Linked DNA regions of Homo sapiens: regions 1, 2, 4, 5, 6 and 7 are each linked to region 3. Evidence: promoter capture Hi-C in 16 types of primary human blood cells and fetal thymus (Javierre and others, 2016). All regions are on one chromosome and are shown on one strand. Each heading gives the region's core, a stretch centred on a gene start or on the middle of the fragment in contact. The rest is flanking DNA. Distances are from core to core; before and after follow the strand shown. Region 1 overlaps LOC101927314 (a long non-coding RNA gene). Region 2 has its middle 2.5 kb from the start of SIM1. Region 3 holds the start of POU3F2 (POU class 3 homeobox 2). Region 4 overlaps MMS22L (MMS22 like, DNA repair protein). Region 5 overlaps LOC101927314 (a long non-coding RNA gene). Region 6 holds the start of MMS22L (MMS22 like, DNA repair protein). Region 7 overlaps MMS22L (MMS22 like, DNA repair protein).

Region 1 (2,773 bases), core at 240-2,739, 1.4 Mb before region 3:
TTGCACATCCTATTTTATGCATATGAATAGAAGGTACTGTAATCTTGAATAGAATCTTCCTATCATAGGACATCTTGTATTAAATGTTTTAAATGAGAATTAGCAGATCTGGGGAACTATAGAGGCTTTTTTGATTTGTTTTACCTATAGGAATTGCATTTTGGACATAGATTTTAATGTTATGTTGAAATAAATCGTCTAATCAACATTTTCCCTAAATATTTTATAAATATGCAAAATTTATCAAAGTGCACTTGTATGTAGATCTTTTGACTATATATATAGTCTATATATATTTATATATTTATGTATATATATATAAAAATTCATATATTATATGTATTTATATACTACATATATAGTTAAAAGATCTACATACATAAATACATGTTTATCTATCGATATAAATATAATAAATATATTACTATATTTATTACATATTAATATATTTATATTCACCAAAGCTGAAGTGCAATAGAGTGATTATAACTAACTGCAGCCTCAAACTTGTGGACTCAAGTGATCCTCCTGCCTTAGCCTCTCGAGTAGCTGGGACCACAGGCATGTGTCACCATGCCCAGCTATTTTTTATTTTTCATAGAGATAGGGGTCTCACTTCGTTGCTCAGGCTGGTCTTGAACTCCTGGCTTCAAGCAATACTCCCTCTTCAGCCTACCAAAGTGCTGGGATTACAGGTTGAGCCGCTACACCCAGCCACTATTTTTATACATAGCTTTAAAAGTTTTGAAAAATTTTCCTGGGGGACTGATATTACTAAATGTCTATCTTTTCATGACTCCTCCATGCATAAAATATAATTAAGGAAATGGAAGGGCTAATTTAATCTGTAAATATTTTAGTAATGATAAGATATTAAAGAAAGCAGAAGGACGAAAGGAAGGAAAGCTGGGTCAGGGCGGGGGGATAAGGAAGACTTCAGGGAGAAAGCAAATGAATTGAGCTTTGAAGAATGAATAAAGGTTTGCCAAAAGGCTGTGGAGTGTGAGGTCAAAAGCATTCCAGACAAGAAAAAATTTCATGCAAAGTTCTAGAGATGTGAAAGGATGAATCATATGATTAGAGAACTTGGGTTAATTAGGAATTGCTGGATTTTAAATTGCAGGTGGAAGACACTATTCAGAGGAAGGTAGAGATCAGAAAACAAAGAACCTTATTTCCTTCTAAGGAATCTAGGCTTTATTTCTAAGTGATGGGAATTCTGAGGACTTTTGAGTGATAGGGCCAGGTTTCTGTGAAGTTAAGTTTAGATTTGTGGGATGAGATCATAGAAGGAAGGGAGTTAGGAGATTATCAAATGTTTGGGGCAGAGATAATGAGGTCTTAGGCTCAGAGCAGAAGGTTGAGGAGAGACAACTGAGAATAGAGGCTTAGAAGGGAGGAGGGAAATGGATGTGGGAGCAAGAGATGGGGAGGGAAAATGACATAGAGGAGCAGAAGTAGGTTAAGGAAGTCAAGCGTCCTGAGAACTCATTATTAACTCATACACATATATAGGCAAATAATGTTTTGTTGCAGACATGTGTTGTACAAAATAGAAAATAGTAAATCTGAATCCCATTCATTGTATAGATACTGATTTTTAAATATATGTCACACAGGCAGAACACACAAAGACATAAAGGTGAGTGGAGATAATTTTCAAAAGGAAACCTCTCAGTAAGGAAAATCACAGGTTGCTTGCTGTTTGATTCAGAATCAAAAGTGTTAATTGAAAATTGTTATTTATATTTCCCTAAAGTCTCATGACACTTTTTTGGTCTACTTATATTAAAATGCGGATAACACAAGGTATGATGAGGTAATTTTTTGCCACTTTCTAAACCTCTTGTTATTCACTCTAGTTGTTTAAGTGTTGAATTTCTTTGTCTTGTTAAAAAGTGTCCTGTTGCTGAATGGTACAAGTACTAGATCTGTTCATTAGTAGCTAATTTTATTTATATTTAAATGAAGAAGTTATTGATGGAAGGAGCAATGTCATAAAGAAAATCGAAGTAAACATTTTATGTATAAAAATTAGATAAATGGTTCCTTTTGAGTGGGAGAAAGAGGGACCAGTCCAGAAAGGAAGAAGGGTACTTCCTTGGCCATAAATGCTTTTCTTATGTTTTTGGTGCCTTGTTACCTGAAAGTAGATTTGAGGAGTGTGAGATGAACAGCATTAGTGGAACCATTAGAGAGGTGTAGGCCACCTCTTTTGCTTTGAGATCTGTTTCTTAAACTGAGAGAATCAGAGGGATGACTAATCCAACTAGGGGGAAATTGATCTTAGATTAAAGAGTCCAGGGTGAAATATAGTAAATTCCATTTTGGGGTCTGTAGAGTTAGAGTAAACTGCTAATTGGACAGCTAATATGTAGTGAGGTAAGATATCAATCATGTATCATAGAATTCTAATTTCTTTTAAAAATTTAAAGTGTATTGATACTTGTTCACATAATAATTACATTTCTTTTTGAAATAATTTTTAAGAAAGAAATTATCTCTGACTAAAATACTGATAATACATGCTTTTAAATCTGTGAGGAATTGGGTGCAAAGAACCAGCAGCCTAGAAAAGAGACTTCTAGATTTGTTGAATGAATGAATGCTTGGATATCAACACATCGAGGTGCTCTGGCTGCTTACACTGCTTCACTGAGCACTACTCCCACCTAGTGGCAATCTACCTGTAGTGCATGGGTATTTTAAAGGAATGAAAACTGAAGTTCTCTGGAAGGGAACTATGTACTTTGACCTCCTGTCAATCATACTT
Region 2 (2,903 bases), core at 74-2,573, 1.6 Mb after region 3:
TGTTGTCCTCACGAATCACCCCCTACAGACTCGACTCCCGGCTTGGTTTTGGTACGCCGGTGACCAGATTCGGCTCCTAGAGGTGCGTTTGGAGGGAGTTGTTTCATCTACCATAAAAATCAGTGAGAACACCAGTGACGGGGCACTCATCCTCTCGTTTGTGGCGCTAATTGCCACTGAGAAAATAAATACTTTGAAGAGGGGTGTGTGCCATTCTGCTGATATTCAGAACAACTTTAAGAGTGTTTGTTCAAAAATACAGACATCTGCCACCTCCTTGCCGCCCGATGGCAGTAAGATAGTCGTAGAAGGACAACAGCAGCTTTCTGGTGTTATTTACATATCTGGGCAACACCTGGCTGGAGGAGGTGAAAGTTTTGGATAGAAAGAAAAAGAAAGAAGCACGGAGATTTTGTAGGTCTTTCAAAACTGGAATCCAGCTAATGGACTCTAATCTAGGAGGAGTCATTTCCCCAGTGGCTGTAGCCACTTAGAGATCTGGTTCTGGGCGCCTTCCAACCACCCAATGATGCGCTTTTAACAAGACATAGCTAGAAGATAGCGAGAGATGCACTGTGGCTCACTTATACACAAGATTCCAGAAAGATCAGATAAGGTCAAGTTGGCTACTACATGTAAAGTCGGGGGTGGAGGGTGCGTGTGGAGAGGGGAAATAACCTTTCTTGACCCTCCTCTCCCCTCCAACCAGGTCACATATAGCTGCCAGGCGAAGCAATGACACTTAGGGTTAAGAGGAGGTTTTCCATTCGACTGTGTTCTAGAGAGGATTTCAGTCAAGACCGCGGTTACTCTAACCCTATCTCTACTTAAAACAACATGCCGGTGTGGAAGTGCCTCTCTGGGGTTTGAAACCTGTGTCCACAGCAGGGACTTCCGGGGGGTGGAGGTAGGGAGTCAGGTAATGCTGGGTTTCCAGAAGAAAAAATGCAGTAATTTTGCCTTCAGAAGCAAGATGGGCAAAATGAGTAAGGAAGTCTTCACGCTTAAGGCTGACGTCCTGGGGGGCTGGGCGGGCTGTTCCAATGTCCCAGTGAAGCTCAGTTGTCAATGAGCCAAGTAGATGTCGTTTAATAAACAAAGTGAATGCACGACCACGAGGTGACGGCCTCTCGCTAAGTCCTCAGCACACAACTGTCTGAGCCGCGTTTACCGAGAGAGTGAATTAGCATGACGACGTAACACCTGTTTTTCTAATCTTTGAACCTAGGTTGGAGCCGGAACGCTGCTCCTTCACTCCCCCTCCCGGGCCCAGGGACCTGGCTTTGCACCCTCCCCACGACCCCGCCTGCCAGCCCCCCACGCGCCCTGTAGCCGGAGGCGTGAACCGTGAACCGGAACCTCAGGTGCCTCCCACGTGTTCTGCGAATTTACGTTCGCCTCTAGCACGGGAAATTTTAAATGAATTTCTTGAAGCTCAGAGACTAATCGTTTTGCCAATATAAGGAGAAAAGCCCCAGAAAGGAAGAGACGGTCACGGGCGACCCACTAACCCCAAATAGAGATCCTTATAGAGTCTAGGCCGCCACCTCCTTGAGCCGGTGGCCTTAAAACCTAGCCTCTGGCCCTCAGGCACCCAGAATGCGATCCTGATGTGGGAGAAAACCCATGCGGGGCTGCAAAAAAGTGTCTCCCTCCTTCCCCCACCAAGCAGGGCGAACAGCCTAGTGTGATGGCGACACTGTTCCCCCAAGAGTCCCTGCCACTTCTGGGGCAACCCAGGATGCTGCCCTCATGGAGCCTGCCCCGGACCCCGGAGGCCAGGACATGCAGGCGTCCGTGACTCTACCCCAGGGGAGCCAGGCCGGGTAGATTCTGGAACCAACGCGCCTTTGTGAGCAATGTCTAGCATGCCGCGCGCACCCAGAAAGAAGGGGGAGCGGGCACCTCAAGGGCCTTCTGACCCCTCCCCGCAAAAGGCAAAATCAAGACTACAGAAGGTGAACTTTCGGTTGTAAAAGAACGAGTGAACACATACTGGAATTCCGGTGCAAACCGCCGAACCGGGGTTCAATGCCTCGGCCCCCGACCCTTGCTCTGGCACAGACCTCCACCCTGCCTTCCAAAAACTCCTCTAATGACTCTTCTTTGCTCCAGGCTGTTTGAGCATCTTATCAAAACTAGAATGATTTCTGTCCACCACCATTCTCTTTATTTTTTTGCAGACTGCTAGGGACGCACACATACACTTTTGCATGCTCGCACATCCCACATGCACAGTTGCACAAAGCACACACACATGGATTTTGCTCAATGTCCAAGGTCAGGATGAAGGATATATTTATAACCAAGATACAAAATCTGAAGATGGTCACTCGAACATCTCAGTATGTTACATCCAGATGTTCACTCTGTCACTGAAAAGGACAAGTTATCTAGGGACATATTATTGTCTTAGGAAATATTAACATTTTCTAGTTCCAAGTATATTAGTTAACGTAATCCTGTCCTAGACTCATTTATTTTTACCACATTTAGACATTTACATCTCTGAGAGTCGTTATGATGTTGAGGCAGAAACAAGGGCCACTTGTAGCCTTGACCCTAAACAAAGTGTAGAAGGAGCCCCCCAAAATATGGTCATATTTACTATTTAGAAGTTATGGTAAATATTACTTGTCTGATCAGGACGTTTTGAAAAGTATATTTTATGTATATAAATATAAAAAAACCCTTTTCCTAGGTACTGCTTTTCAGTTGTCTCCCTAAATTGACCCGTGAAATACCCCCAAATTCACTTCAGTGGTTACACACTGGAAAAAAAGAAAGAAAGAAAAAAAGAAAATGCACCAAGTTGGAAAATGAGATTGGCGAATACAAGTAAGGGTTTCATATAGTTTCTCTAAATATTCTGGTTAATTTTCCAGATATTGGAAACCGTGGTC
Region 3 (2,700 bases), core at 18-2,517:
CGGGTGCATGGTCCCATAGTCTTGCTCTGGAGTTCACTGCTGAAAGCTGAGCTGGGAGCTTGGCCAGGGAGCGCCAAAGACATAGACTAACCCCACCCGCTAGCGCCCACCGAAGTTACTGATTAGGAAGGTTCCCCTGGCATCAGCCCATTTGCTTCACACACTCTTCCTCCTTCCCAAGGGGCTAACGGAAAAGTTGCACCTACCAGCGGTAGGAGCACGGGGAATCGCGCACGCAGGCCCTCCGCGCGGCTTCCCGGAGCGGCCTTTGGCGACTGCGCCGCCCCTACAAGGCCGCACACCCCTCGCCAGCACTCCGGCAGCCTCGCACAAGACGGAGCCCACGCAGGCTTCTAGTTTTCTAAACCAAAAACTGCACGCGCCGGCGTGTGAATCTGACGGAGAGACTTTTAGAGTTTTGTTTGGTTTTCAGTTCAGACCGCTACGCTGTCAGAGCAAGCAACTCCGAGCCTTGATGGGAATGACTTACAAGCCGCGGTGCGGGCTGAGCCTGCCTCTCTCGGGGTTCTTTCCCCAAGGGAGTGGGAGACAATTGGGCCTGGAACCTAAAAGGAAGAGAGCCTGTGCTAGCCGCGGGGTAGAGGGGAAGGAGAAGAGCTTTGGGCCGAAGTGTCCGCACACCCTGGAGCAAGAGACACTTGTGCACTGAAATTCTAACCGTGGGATGCAAGGAGAGTTGAACAGGGGAACAGGTCTGGCTCTTGGCTCTAGGTTTAAGAGATACACACTGTGTGTGTGTCCCTAGGTGAATAAAAATCCGACTCCCGCTGGCTCGGTGCGACCCAGCTTTTCCCTTACCCCCTCCGTTTCCCCATCTTAAAGCCCTATTGGGAAACGAAAGTGGACACCACTGCCTCCCGCCCCCCACCCCAATCCAAGTCTTCCAAGTGTCTGTGGCCGATAAGAGCACCGGGACCGCCCCCCTGCCGGTCTTCTCTGCCTGGGAGACAGATGGGGGGCGGGGCCCATCCGAGAGAGGGCGGAGGAGGCCCCGGGTGAGGAAGAAGCGGGGGGGTGAGAACTGAGAGAATCTGAATCGGGAGGCGAAGGGGACGGGGAGGAGGGCTAGGAGGACTCCGAGCCCGGGGGAGGGGGAGGGAGTAGCTCTGCGCCAATCAGTGGCGCCGGCCTGGGAGGTTGCTAGCGGTATCCACGTAAATCAAAGGGCGCGGAGCCAATGGGAGGGGGCGGAGGGGGCGGGGCCCAGGCGCGTGCCGCTGCGAGCCGGCGCTGCCAAGAGAGCGGGAGAGAGCTGGAGAGAGCAGGGAGAGGGGGGAGCGCCGAGCTAGTCAGAGAGTGAGCGAGAGCGAGAAGGAGGGAGAGGAGGAGAAAGAGAGCGAGGGCGGGCGGGAGGCGGCGGCGGCGGCAGCAGCAGCAGTAATAGCAGGAGCAGCAACAGAAGGCGTCGGAGCGGGCGTCGGAGCTGCCCGCTGTGGGAGAGAGAGGAGACAGAAAGAGCGAGCGAGGAGAGGGAGCCCGAGGCGAAAAAGTAACTGTCAAATGCGCGGCTCCTTTAACCGGAGCGCTCAGTCCGGCTCCGAGAGTCATGGCGACCGCAGCGTCTAACCACTACAGCCTGCTCACCTCCAGCGCCTCCATCGTGCACGCCGAGCCGCCCGGCGGCATGCAGCAGGGCGCGGGGGGCTACCGCGAAGCGCAGAGCCTGGTGCAGGGCGACTACGGCGCTCTGCAGAGCAACGGACACCCGCTCAGCCACGCTCACCAGTGGATCACCGCGCTGTCCCACGGCGGCGGCGGCGGGGGCGGTGGCGGCGGCGGGGGGGGCGGGGGCGGCGGCGGGGGCGGCGGCGACGGCTCCCCGTGGTCCACCAGCCCCCTGGGCCAGCCGGACATCAAGCCCTCGGTGGTGGTGCAGCAGGGCGGCCGCGGAGACGAGCTGCACGGGCCAGGCGCCCTGCAGCAGCAGCATCAGCAGCAGCAACAGCAACAGCAGCAGCAACAGCAGCAACAGCAGCAGCAGCAGCAGCAACAGCGGCCGCCGCATCTGGTGCACCACGCCGCTAACCACCACCCGGGACCCGGGGCATGGCGGAGCGCGGCGGCTGCAGCGCACCTCCCACCCTCCATGGGAGCGTCCAACGGCGGCTTGCTCTACTCGCAGCCCAGCTTCACGGTGAACGGCATGCTGGGCGCCGGCGGGCAGCCGGCCGGTCTGCACCACCACGGCCTGCGGGACGCGCACGACGAGCCACACCATGCCGACCACCACCCGCACCCGCACTCGCACCCACACCAGCAGCCGCCGCCCCCGCCGCCCCCGCAGGGTCCGCCTGGCCACCCAGGCGCGCACCACGACCCGCACTCGGACGAGGACACGCCGACCTCGGACGACCTGGAGCAGTTCGCCAAGCAGTTCAAGCAGCGGCGGATCAAACTGGGATTTACCCAAGCGGACGTGGGGCTGGCTCTGGGCACCCTGTATGGCAACGTGTTCTCGCAGACCACCATCTGCAGGTTTGAGGCCCTGCAGCTGAGCTTCAAGAACATGTGCAAGCTGAAGCCTTTGTTGAACAAGTGGTTGGAGGAGGCGGACTCGTCCTCGGGCAGCCCCACGAGCATAGACAAGATCGCAGCGCAAGGGCGCAAGCGGAAAAAGCGGACCTCCATCGAGGTGAGCGTCAAGGGGGCTCTGGAGAGCCATTTCCTCAAATGCCCCAA
Region 4 (2,700 bases), core at 109-2,608, 1.6 Mb before region 3:
GTAACTTCAAATTTTGGTAATAACTATAAATCAGAAATCATAAAGCTCTATTCTATTCTATGCTTCTTGAAAGTAGGAGTAATCTTGTAAAAAATCTAATATATTTTTATTTTTAATTCATTATTTATTTATTTTTTTGAGGCGGAGTTTCACTCTTGTTGCTCAGGCTGGAGTGCAATGGCGCATTCTCGGCTCACTGAAGTCTCCACCTCCCAGGTTCAAGCGATTCTCCTGCCTCAGCCTCCTCAGCCCTTGAGTAGCTGGGATTACAGGTGCCCACCACCACGCCCAGCTAATTTTTTGTATTTTTAGTAGAGGTGGGGTTTCGCCGTGTCGGCCAGGCTGGTCTCAAACTCCTGACCTCAGGTGATCTGCCTGCCTCAGACTCCCAAAGTGCTAGGATTACAGGTGTGAGCCACTGCACCCAGCCAAATAAAATCTAATTATAAAGCTTCATTCACCTCCCACGTTAATTATATAATTATTAGGAACTGGGGTTAAATATCAGCTCTGACCTAGATTACAACTACAGATTATAATCAGGGGCATAGCAAATAAAAAACCAGAAGACTAACAAGGGTGAGGAACGTTTGTGAAAGCTTTGATATCTTTTCTTTGTAGCTAGTATTTTGAATTTCTCACAGATGGACCCTGCTGTGATTCTATTTTCTTATGTTGTGCTGGAGTCACTCAATAGGCCCTTTCATTACAGAATCTTCGGTTCTGAGAAATTTTCTTAAATTGTTTTATTGATTATTTCCTTCATTCCATTTTCTAAGTTCCCTCTTCCAAATGCCTTCCTTCCACTCTAATCCCAATACAGACAATCTGCACTTGTAGATTCAAAGTGTTCCTGCAGACCCAGCCTTGAGAGACTGGTTCCGAAATGTCTCAAAAGGAAGGTAAAGGCTCAAAGGACCCACTTGCTGCACCTGTTTCCATAGTTCAGTGGAAAAAATTCAATGATAACTAGTGAATTAGAAAGATAAAATAATAATAGTCATCCAGAAAATACTAAGGAAAACACACTGAATTTTTCAATAACACCGAAAACCTTTCAACTGGGAAGAACAAACCTCCTATCATCCTCTAGAGGTCCCTTCTACCCATGGGTACTTAGAAGACAATAAACACAGAGATGAAATTCAGATTATGCATTAAATCCATATCCTGACTGCATGGATACTGTTGTCTGCTTGCATATGGACACTGGCAAGAATTGTTGGATAAGCATATAAAATTTCAGGACAAGTATAAACCATTAGCAAGTAGTATGAAATGGTGAAAAAGTGATGGTTTAAATAAATACAAGTTTCTTTGTCCTTCCTCTCTACCATCTTAGTCTTTCATGTAAAAAATACATGAGTGCATACTACATATGCTTCATGTGACTGGTTCACTGATATATCCTAAGTGCCTACTATCATAGTAGGCATTCAAAAATACTAGTTAAATTTGTTGAATAAATTGTTTTTCATGAATATGTCTCCCCTTTAGAAAATAATTACAACACAAGGTAAAAAACAATAAAGGACATTAGAGATTTAGTAACTATTCAGGAAATTCAACAGGAATAGAGATTATTCAAGACTGGTGTATTAGTCGGTTCTCACACTGCCATAAACACCCTAGACTGGGTAATTTATAAAGAAAAGAGGTTTAATTGACTCATAGTTCCCCATGGCCAGAGAGGCCTCAGGGAACCCAAAATCATGGAGGAAGGTGAAGGGGAAGCAAGGACCCCTGAATTGAATTTTTTATTTTATATTCACTAATTTAAACTGTCACACATAGCTAGTGCTACCCTACTGGACAGCAGAAATCTTCACATGACAGCAGGAGGAAGAGCTGCTAGCAGGGAAAATGCCAGATGCTTATAAAACCATCAGATCTCGTGAGAACTCACTCAATACTACAAGAACAGCATGTGGGAACCACCCCCATGATCCAATCACCTCTGTCCATTGACACATGGAGGATTATAGGTCTCTCCCTCGACACGTGGGGATTACAATTTGAGATAAGATTTGAGTGGGGACACAGAGCCAAACCATATCAACTGGTAACACACGGATAAGCATACATTTCTCTTGAAATGTACAAGCATGCATTTCAAGAGAAGCTTGACATGAAGCTTCTTGACATGAATATTATTCACAAAAAAATGAAGAAAAGATAAATGAAGAAAACCAACATGTATTGAATGTACTGAAAGCTTATTATGATTCATGTTCTGGACAGGTGCAGCATCAAAGTCAGTGCTATCCCTTGGCAAGTCTTTCTGCTGCTATCCACTACATTATCCACTAACTAAATATAGCTATTGAGGACTTAATATATAGCTGGTGTTACAGAACAGTTGAATTTTTTATTTTATATTCACTAATTTAAACTGTCACACATAGCTAGTGCTACCCTACTGGACAGCAGAAATCTAAGCAGATGTTCATGGAAATCCTATGAGGTGGATATTATTTTACAAAGATGCAGCTGAAACTTAGAAAAGATTAAGTAACTTCCTAAGATTGCACTGTTGGTAAATGAAAGAGGGTGATCTGAACTCAGGTTTACTGACCTTAAAGCTCCTGCTTTTTAATACAATGTTTTGACAGCAGCAACTATCAGGCACTACTAGAGGTTCCTTAAGAAGCAAAGGCAAAAAGCAAAACTTGCTGTGTGCATAAGTCTCCTGCCTGGAAT
Region 5 (2,700 bases), core at 60-2,559, 1.4 Mb before region 3:
TCCAAAGCATGGTAGCTTTCCACTAGCTTCCCAAGTCAGATGAGACAGATACCAGTTCCTTGGGCAGCATTCCAAAAAGCCAAAATGCCAAATGTCTGGTTTACTTTTTTCCTCTTTCCCAAGGGAGAAGTGATGAGTTGAAAATCTTGTCCCAGTTGTACCAAGCCCTAACAGCCTCTACCTGCAGCACCACATGGTTCCCCACTTTCTTTCTTTTTTTTTTTTTTTTTTTTTGAGATGGAGTCTCACTCTGTCGTCCAGGCTGGAGTGGCAGTGGCACCGTCTTGGCTCACTGCAAGCTCCACCTCCCGGGTTCATGCTATTCTCCTGCCTCAGCCTCCCGAGTAGCTGGGACTACAGGCGCCCGCCACCAAACCCAGCTAATTTTTTGTATTTTTAGTAGAGACGGGGTTTCACCGTGTTAGCCAGGATGGTCTCGATCTTCTGACCTCGTGATCCACCCGCCTCGGCCTCCGAAAGTGTTGAGATTACAGGCTTGAGCCACCGCGCCCGGCCACTTGCTTTTGCTTTAAGAGACCTCCAGGCATCCAAATTATGCGGTTCTGTTAGTACTTTTAGTCAGGCAAAACAGATACCAGTCTCTTGGGCTGTCTTCCAAAAAGCCAGGATGTTAGATGTACACTCTTCTCTTTGCCCTTAAAGGAAAAGCCATGAGCCAACCTAAACTGTGCTGACTTGGAGGAACAATCATGGATAAAATGGAATGGCCCTTCTTACCCTTTTCAATGTTGCTGTACTTAGCTTTGTGCTCACGAGGGGTACTGCAACTTCTTAACGTTTTTCTGGAATTCTCAAAAAGGATTTTTGCTTTGTTTGTTGCTGTTAATTCAGTGACCCTGTGGGAAAAGAGAAGTGAGACTTCTTATTTTACCATCTTACTGATATTACTTCAATTATAATAAACTTAAATACCATCTTCAAGTTTATGATGGATTTCTACAAAATACTGAATGTGAGGAAACTTTCTCAAAGTTAGTAGTTACACTGAAATTGGGGAAAATAACTCATGAAACCCATAGTTTTTACTTAAAAATAATTAGTTTGCCATTTAGACTTTTTTTTTTTTTTTTTTTTTTTTTTTTGACACGGAGTCTCGCTCTGTTGCCAGGCTGGAGTGCAGTGGCGCGATCTCGGCTCATTGCAACCTCCGCCTCCCAGATTCAAGAGATTCTCCTGCCTCAGTCTCCCGAGTAGCTGGGACTACAGGTGCGCACCACCATGCCCAGCTGATTTTTGTATTTTTAGTAGAGACGGGGTTTCATCATGTTGGCTAGGATGGTCTCGATCTCTTCACCTTGTGATTGCCCCGGCCTCCCAAAGTGCTGGGATTACAGGCGTGAGCCACCGCGCCCAGTCATCATTTAGTTTTATACAAGTATAACATCTAGTTAGAGATAATTCACTTTTGATTATTCCAGCCCTATTTGCCTTTAACTTTAATAGCATCAACACCCAAGAGTTATTCATTGGCAGATTAACATTTTTAAGGTTTGTGGCCTCTAAATGACAGAATGAAAAAAAATCATTGTACAAATGTGAAGGAGCAAATATTCATCAACTGCAGGGAAAAATATTTTGATTAAAGATTTGAAAGTAGATTACTAGGGTTAGTTAAAATTGCTAGAGTTCAACTGCTATTGGGACTTTGTTCAAGAGAATGAGGAATATATGCTAGTAATAGAACAAGGAAAATAAGGTGGCTATGAAAATATACAGATGCAGGAAATCTTAGAATATGCATTTATTTTTAAAAAAGTGAGTATTTAACTATTTAGTATGTCACTGGGAAAATTTATGCAGTGACTGAGAAGCAGACTAGGTGCTTTGACCGATACATTTTACCTTCAATTTATGTCCTGTTGTGCATGTGTGGCAATCATCAAGTTATCATTTTATTGCTTTCATCCAAAGGTCATTAAAAGATCTATGGAGCAAAGGATAAATAGAGTATGATGTTTAGAATGGATTATAGGGACAAAAACAGAACAATATGACTTTCTGTATGTAAAACAAACTTGCATTTTGGAATAGAATTTAGAATAGAAATGATCAAACCTCTGCCATTATTATTATCTATAATTATTAAATAAACTTTGGCTCTAGATTTTTGAAGCACCCAAGAAATAGAGACATTCTGAGTCATAAGCAGAGCTCTGCTACAGATTAATTTACTTGTTTCTTTAGGTGTTTTAAATGATGTTTCTATTAAAAAGTCTGTATGTGAATTCTGGCTTCATTCTGGATGCATGGAGTGGATTAGTAAGTAATGAAAAAGGATTTTCAAAGTAAGTTGTGCAAGATGATCTCTTGTCATTCAGAAAGATACTATTAAAACTTCCTACATCGGGCATGGTGGGATCACGCCTGTAATCCCAGCACTTTGGGAGGCTGAGCAAGGAGGATCACCTGAGGTCAGGAGCTTGGGACCACCCTGGCCAACATGGCAAAGCCCCAACTCTACTAAAAATAAAAAAAATTAGTTGGGTGTGGTGGTGCATGCCTGTAATCCCAGCTACTCAGGAGGCTGAGGCAGAGAATCTCTTGAACCTGGTAGGCAGAGGCTGCAGTGAGCTGAGGTCATGCCATTGCACTCCAGCCTGGGTGACAGAGTGAGACTCCGTCTCAGAAATAAATAAATATATAAAACTTCCTTAAAAATTATTTTGACCTCATTTAAAA
Region 6 (2,878 bases), core at 292-2,791, 1.6 Mb before region 3:
TTTAATTTTAAAACTGCTAACAGTTATTCTGAGCCATGTCTGGAGAATAGTATCCAACTAATGAAGTTGAGTATTCTATTTAAGATTTCTAACAAGGTACAACTATAAGGTCAACAAAAATAGTTTCCTCACTGAAACTGCCTCAGCAGGTATTACCAAAATATTTCAAGAACAGTTTTACTGTAATATATATGTACCTGCCCAAGGCAAAATAAGTCTATACACTTCTATATGTGCAGGTAGGATTAGAAGGAACAGGGGCAATAAAAAATGTTTGTCTCTCTTAAATATTACTGGAAAGCTCTAGAATATTATCACACTCTTTAGAAGGAAATACTACTGCAAAAGGCTCAGATAGTTAGGAATTCATTTTAAGTAGAAGAAAAATTAGTGCCCAGCTCCCTACAGTAAGGGAACATCAGTTACCAAGGAAGTTTTCCCTAATACCCCAAATACTTTAGATATGCCCTTACCAAGAAGCCAGCAGAACTGATAATCATTTGTACCCTTATGATATACTAAGCTGATTTATAAAACACGACTTGGTGAACACCAAAGTTTAATGGGCTGAAATAACTAACATTCCTAAAAAACTGGTGAATAATCAGATGAGGGAAAATGTCTCTGAGTTTTACCTACCGCTTAAGGGCTCCGCTGCAGAGGTAGGATTCTCCAGAAAAATGTTTTCCTCCTCCTCTGTTGTCAACAGCACAAGAAAAGTAAGGAGGTTTGCACCATTCCGTCCCCAGCTCCAGCTCTAAGCTGTCAGTCAGGAACGTCGATGCAGCAGAACAGTTCTCCATTGTTTACTTCATGTTCTGAAACACTTGGGGTTCGTCGTATCATTAAGGGCTCCAAAGAGAAGGTGTGAAGAGATTCCTGTTGGGGGGGGGGGGGTGGGGCCGAGAGAGTGGGGATTACTTCAGAAAGTTCTCAAGACGTCCGCCAGCAGGAAGGAAAAACAAACGAACAAACCCAGAGGCCAAATTCCCAATTCCCCCTCGCCCTCCGTCCATCAAGGCTGTCAGAACTTAAGACAAAATGCACAACCAACTGGCTGTGGCAGGGACCTCGAAATCCGGCCACTAAGTCGGGCTCTGCAGCCCAGGACAAGGTGAAAAGCAAAGAAATGTCTGCAGGACATAGCGTCCCGGGCTTGCCTAGAACTGCGCCCTCCGCAACGTTTCTAAACCACTCTCCGCCCGTTTCCCAGCAGCAGGGTGGAGAACGCTCCCTCCCCGGCTCGGGGTGGAAATTAGGAAAGCAACCCCTAGGGCCAACCCCGACCCTCCAAGGAGGAGGCGAGACCCACCAGGCCCACGCCTGGCAGCACTCGGGCGGAGAAGGCGGGGTGCCGGTATCCCGCGTACCCGGCTGCAGCAAGGACCCGGGGCGTCGGTTACCCGCGGTGCCTGTCGTACCCGCTCACATTTCCAGCTCCCGAAACCTGCCTCCTGTGACCCAGACCACCAACAGGAATCTTTGGGGTCTAAACCGCAAACAGGCGAAATTCCCGCCACCGCGCGCCCGCGCTCCGGAAAGGCGGGGCCACGGCGCAGCCCTCCCCCGGCTACCAATCGCCTCGCGATATCTGCGCGGAAACAGTCGGAGCCCCACGAATTCTCGCGAGAGTCCGTCAGTCCGGGACGAGGTACTGAGAAACTTTTTTTTTTGTACCTTTAATTGGTGCGTTCGGCTGAAAGGCGGGGCCTGGTAAAAAAAAAAAAACAGAACTGCTGCTGAGGCGGAGGAGAGGACTTAAGGACTATGGGTTTATCCTCTGGCCGGACCAAAGAGAAGATATTTACTCCAGTGAGTGCGAAGTGAGTGCCTCGTTCACACCCACAGTCGCGCCGTCCCCTCTTCCCGCTCTGGGGCCAGCAACTCTTGTTAGAATGCAGATGCCTTTTGTCCATGGACTGTGAGGCAGGCAAGTGCAACAATTAATTTTCTCTGTAACAGATGGAACAAGTAGACAGAAAATTAGTATGGATATGGAAAACTTGGAAAGCACTAACCAACTTGACCTAATTGACGTTTATAGGTGACCAACCCAACAATAGCAGAATACACACTCCTGTCAAGTGCACATGAAACATTCACTAAGCGATACCATATTCCGAGCCATAAAACAAATGTCATCAACTTTAAAAAGATTTAAATCGTACAAAGTGTATAGTCTGATCATAATGGCATTAAACTAGAAATAAAGTAGATACTTGAAATACTCTAAATATTTGGAAATTAAGAATCATACTTCTAACTAACCTGTGAATCAGGAAAAATCACAGGAAAATTAGAAAATACGTTGAATTAAATTAAAATGAAAACACTAAAATTTGTAACAGTACCTGCTTACATTAAAAAGAAGAACTCAATTCAATAAACTTTTGTCTTAAGTAACTAGAAAAAACCCCCAGCATATTGAAACCAAAGCAAGCAAAATGAATGAAATGATAAATAGTAGAAATAAATGGGATGAAATAAATGGAAGGAAATACATGCAAAAGTTGTTTTTCTAAAAGAGCAATATAATTGATAACCCCCCTACCCAAACTGATAAAGAAAATAAACAAATTATCAGTATCAGGAATTAAAAAGGTTTCATCACTATGAAATTTAGTCATTAAAAGGACAAGGATATTAAAAGAACATTATGAACATTTTTATGCCAATAAGCATAGGTGAAATGGACAAATTCCTTAAAAGACGCAAACTGTCAAAAATCAACAAAAGAAGAAAATTTGAGTATCTCTGTATTTATCGTAGTACTCAGAATCTTTGGTTAAGCCTCCCTCCTCTCTCTCTGCACACACACACACACACACACACACACACACACACACACACCACTTCTTACAAGAAAACTTCAGGCCAG
Region 7 (2,721 bases), core at 115-2,614, 1.6 Mb before region 3:
AAAATGCAGTAAATTATACAACCAGAAACTAGTGACCATTGCCAATTGTGTTAATGGATCTACAAACCTCATCATCAGCTCCAATAGTGACTTGTTTTTTTTTTTCTTTTTGGATTTCAAAACTCAGTCAAGTAAGAGTCAAAAAGTACCTAGGGATATTTTTTAAAGTGTTTATTCATCAAAAGTATAACCAAACCCTAATGGAAATAACAGTCTAGTCACCATTGTAATATAGTGCTAAACCTGCAGTACATATATAATCTTTAGAAATCTGCAAACTCCTTGAAATTATGTGTAAAGTTTTGTGTATACATAAATGTGTATAAGCCCCATCCCCTTTCTTCTGCTTTCTACCACTTTATAAACACTTCTAAGTACAAGCTGAATGCCTCCTCTCAATTTCTCTCCCTGACTCCTCTTCTGCCTTATTTTGATCTCCTCACTCTGTGCCTCTGTTGTAGTCAACAATCCAACTGTAACCTCATGTACAAAATGCACTAACTTAGGAGGAATGTTTAATATGAATTCTATGTAGAAAAAGCAGTGACTAATACATGTTTAAGATCAATTATGAAAATCATCAAAAAGTATAAGCTCGTTTAGAATAATATCATATTTAGCAGTAAATAAATTTCTTAATTTTAAATTATGGTTTTCCAGATATGTAGTTTCATACCACATACATTCCCTATAGAGATGCTATTTACCACTTTTACTGTAGTTCTTTAAAAGGGAGGAAAAGATAGAGGAGGGGAAAAAGTTTCCTAAAAGATTATCCATTGAGTCAATGATCTGTGGGGTTTATTATAAAGCTCCATTATTAGGGCTGAGAGCCTCAAAGGCGTTTATTATAGCACTAATTTCTTTTTGCAAGGCTTCAGCAAATGAACCGATTTATCTGGTATCTGCATGCTTAGGGCTTGATACATGCTATTTGTACATGACAGGTTTCATCTGCGTAGCACCATTGATAACATTTATCTGCACATCAAAAAAGCTCATCTCCTGATGAAAAAAAAATCCATGCATATGCTGGGATAAGAAATGTTAAAGTGGTGAGTAAAAGACCTGTGATATCTCATAAAATGGAACAAAACTACAAAAAGATCACCGATTCAGTATGAATGTGCAACAGTGCTATAGGAGCAGATATAATGTCAAACAAGGAAGAAATGGAAAGATACTTGCTTACACTGATAAAAGAGTAGGGCTTTGTTACCATCCTGTGAATTTTAACTAGAAATTGGAAAAAAAAATTACTTTCAAATAAGACAAAGTTTCATAAAGCTTTAAGAACAATGCAAAAGTAGTTCAAAATAAATCTTAAGACAGTACCCATTGTTTGTAACTGCCAGTAGAAATTAACCCCTGAAAGTTACTCTTATGGGAATAAGATGTTTAGATTGACTGTTGCTGTAGTTCAAAATTAAAAATCTTTGATAAAGCTTAAAGTCCTTATAAGAAAGTAACTTTAAAAAACACACAGAAAAAAATGTAACCAAAATGTAAACCTGCTTTCCTTTCAGAAACAATAATCAGCTTACAACATCTGTGTAAAAGATTGTGAAAGGTGGACACAGCCTACATATTTGAATAATAATGTAATAATAAAGTATTTCCAACAGATAATATATAATATATTCTTTTGAGAAAAATCAGTGTTTTTCTTTATAAAGAAGGTATACACTGAGTTAAAGAGCTTGTTCCTATAATTCATGATCTTTCAGAACATGTGGTTACGTTAGGCTTCAATCACCTCTTACTCTTACTCTTCCCAGCATTTGGTAATATAGACAGTGGAGCTAATTTTCTGTCATTCAGGAAGAACTGCTGGATCACTAAACTTGTATCATCATCATCTCTGAAACACAGTAAAAATCACTGTTAGACCCAATAGTTTATTAGATCGAACCCACCATCAACAATGTCAACTCTGCCTGGTCGTGTTAACAGGAAAATGTTTTACGAGTTCCACCACTGGGCATCAATTTAACTTCCAGCACCAGCTATGCTGTAAAACCGTGAATGTAATTTATATGGTGACCCGCGTGTGTGGGAAGCAATATCTAGGTGAAACTTCTCACAGTCTGACAAAATGCTTTGATTTGCACCATTCAGATGATTGAGCAAAAAGAGTTTAAGCAATCACCACCAATAGCCTTTATCTCCAAATTCACTAAAAATTTATTACTCTATGAGTGCAATCTATTGCTTTAGAGCCTAGATTGACAGAATAGAAATGACTGGATAAATATTACATTTTCAACTGGTACACATCTTGTCCATTAGGTTTAAATATTGGACAAGCTATGTGTTTAAGATAAATATCAGTCTTAGCTTATTCCCTCGAACAATACTTTTAGAAAGCCTACAAATGTTTCCACAGTAACATTTTTGTGCTTACATATAGCAGAGGACACATGTTCACTGCCAATTAGGAGAAAGTAAACCAAGAGACCACTGTATTCTTCTTATAACAACATACCTTTGTCTTTTACTTAGCACTTAACACAGATGACAATATTTACATATATTTTGCTGTGTACTAAACAACTGAGTAATCACTCAAGCTGGAAAGGACATAAATAGAGCTCACCCACCTATCCTAAATAACAGTTTACTATTCAGGCCTTCCTAGGAATTTTAAACTAGCATAGATTTCATACAGATGGCTTTCCAAGTAGCTACTCCTGTGCACTAACAGAAGGGTGTTTACCTGGC

The links. Contacts are between HindIII fragments. The CHiCAGO score rates a contact against its expected background, and 5 or more counts as called.
Region 1: a fragment that was not itself captured here is called in contact with the fragment with the promoter of POU3F2 in region 3 in 1 of 17 cell types (naive CD8 T cells); the score reaches 6.1 in naive CD8 T cells.
Region 2: a contact is called between a fragment that was not itself captured here and the fragment with the promoter of POU3F2 in region 3, in 2 of 17 cell types (naive B cells and total B cells). The highest score is 14.1, in naive B cells.
Region 4: a contact is called between a fragment that was not itself captured here and the fragment with the promoter of POU3F2 in region 3, in 4 of 17 cell types (total B cells, naive CD8 T cells, naive B cells and 1 more). The highest score is 7.7, in total B cells.
Region 5: a fragment that was not itself captured here is called in contact with the fragment with the promoter of POU3F2 in region 3 in 9 of 17 cell types (total CD4 T cells, total CD8 T cells, naive CD8 T cells and 6 more); the score reaches 14.7 in total CD4 T cells.
Region 6: a contact is called between the fragment with the promoter of MMS22L here and the fragment with the promoter of POU3F2 in region 3, in 2 of 17 cell types (total CD4 T cells and total B cells). The highest score is 8.2, in total CD4 T cells.
Region 7: a fragment that was not itself captured here is called in contact with the fragment with the promoter of POU3F2 in region 3 in 3 of 17 cell types (total CD4 T cells, naive CD4 T cells and M2 macrophages); the score reaches 8.6 in total CD4 T cells.

What each region holds. Positions count from the first base shown.
Region 1 is chr6:97,391,664-97,394,436 of GRCh38, forward strand. All of the region lies in intron 1 of LOC101927314 (a long non-coding RNA gene), which reads left to right. Among named protein-coding and RNA genes, the nearest start is that of MMS22L, 110 kb to the left of the region's middle. The HindIII fragment of the contact is 7,266 bases long and covers 1-2,773 here.
Region 2 is chr6:100,465,962-100,468,864 of GRCh38, forward strand. No RefSeq gene overlaps it. Among named protein-coding and RNA genes, the nearest start is that of SIM1, 2.5 kb to the left of the region's middle. RefSeq lists an enhancer at 1,692-2,283. The HindIII fragment of the contact is 3,319 bases long and covers 1-2,903 here.
Region 3 is chr6:98,833,307-98,836,006 of GRCh38, forward strand. POU3F2 (POU class 3 homeobox 2) reads left to right here and starts at 1,268. Exons shown (of 1, transcript NM_005604.4): 1 at 1,268-2,700. The coding sequence starts at 1,568. RefSeq lists a silencer at 1,209-1,278 and enhancers at 1,917-1,986, 1,985-2,581, 2,582-2,700. The HindIII fragment of the contact is 14,703 bases long and covers 1-2,700 here.
Region 4 is chr6:97,217,125-97,219,824 of GRCh38, forward strand. All of the region lies in intron 14 of MMS22L (MMS22 like, DNA repair protein), which reads right to left. Among named protein-coding and RNA genes, the nearest start is that of MMS22L, 65 kb to the right of the region's middle. The HindIII fragment of the contact is 1,523 bases long and covers 598-2,120 here.
Region 5 is chr6:97,480,920-97,483,619 of GRCh38, forward strand. The region is part of intron 1 of LOC101927314 (a long non-coding RNA gene); the gene reads left to right. Among named protein-coding and RNA genes, the nearest start is that of MMS22L, 200 kb to the left of the region's middle. The HindIII fragment of the contact is 6,453 bases long and covers 1-2,700 here.
Region 6 is chr6:97,281,675-97,284,552 of GRCh38, forward strand. MMS22L (MMS22 like, DNA repair protein) reads right to left here and starts at 1,542. Exons shown (of 25, transcript NM_001350599.2): 1 at 1,422-1,542; 2 at 640-879. The coding sequence starts at 803. RefSeq lists enhancers at 1,119-1,378, 1,759-1,818. The HindIII fragment of the contact is 13,882 bases long and covers 1-2,878 here.
Region 7 is chr6:97,199,606-97,202,326 of GRCh38, forward strand. All of the region lies in intron 14 of MMS22L (MMS22 like, DNA repair protein), which reads right to left. Among named protein-coding and RNA genes, the nearest start is that of MMS22L, 82 kb to the right of the region's middle. The HindIII fragment of the contact is 158 bases long and covers 1,286-1,443 here.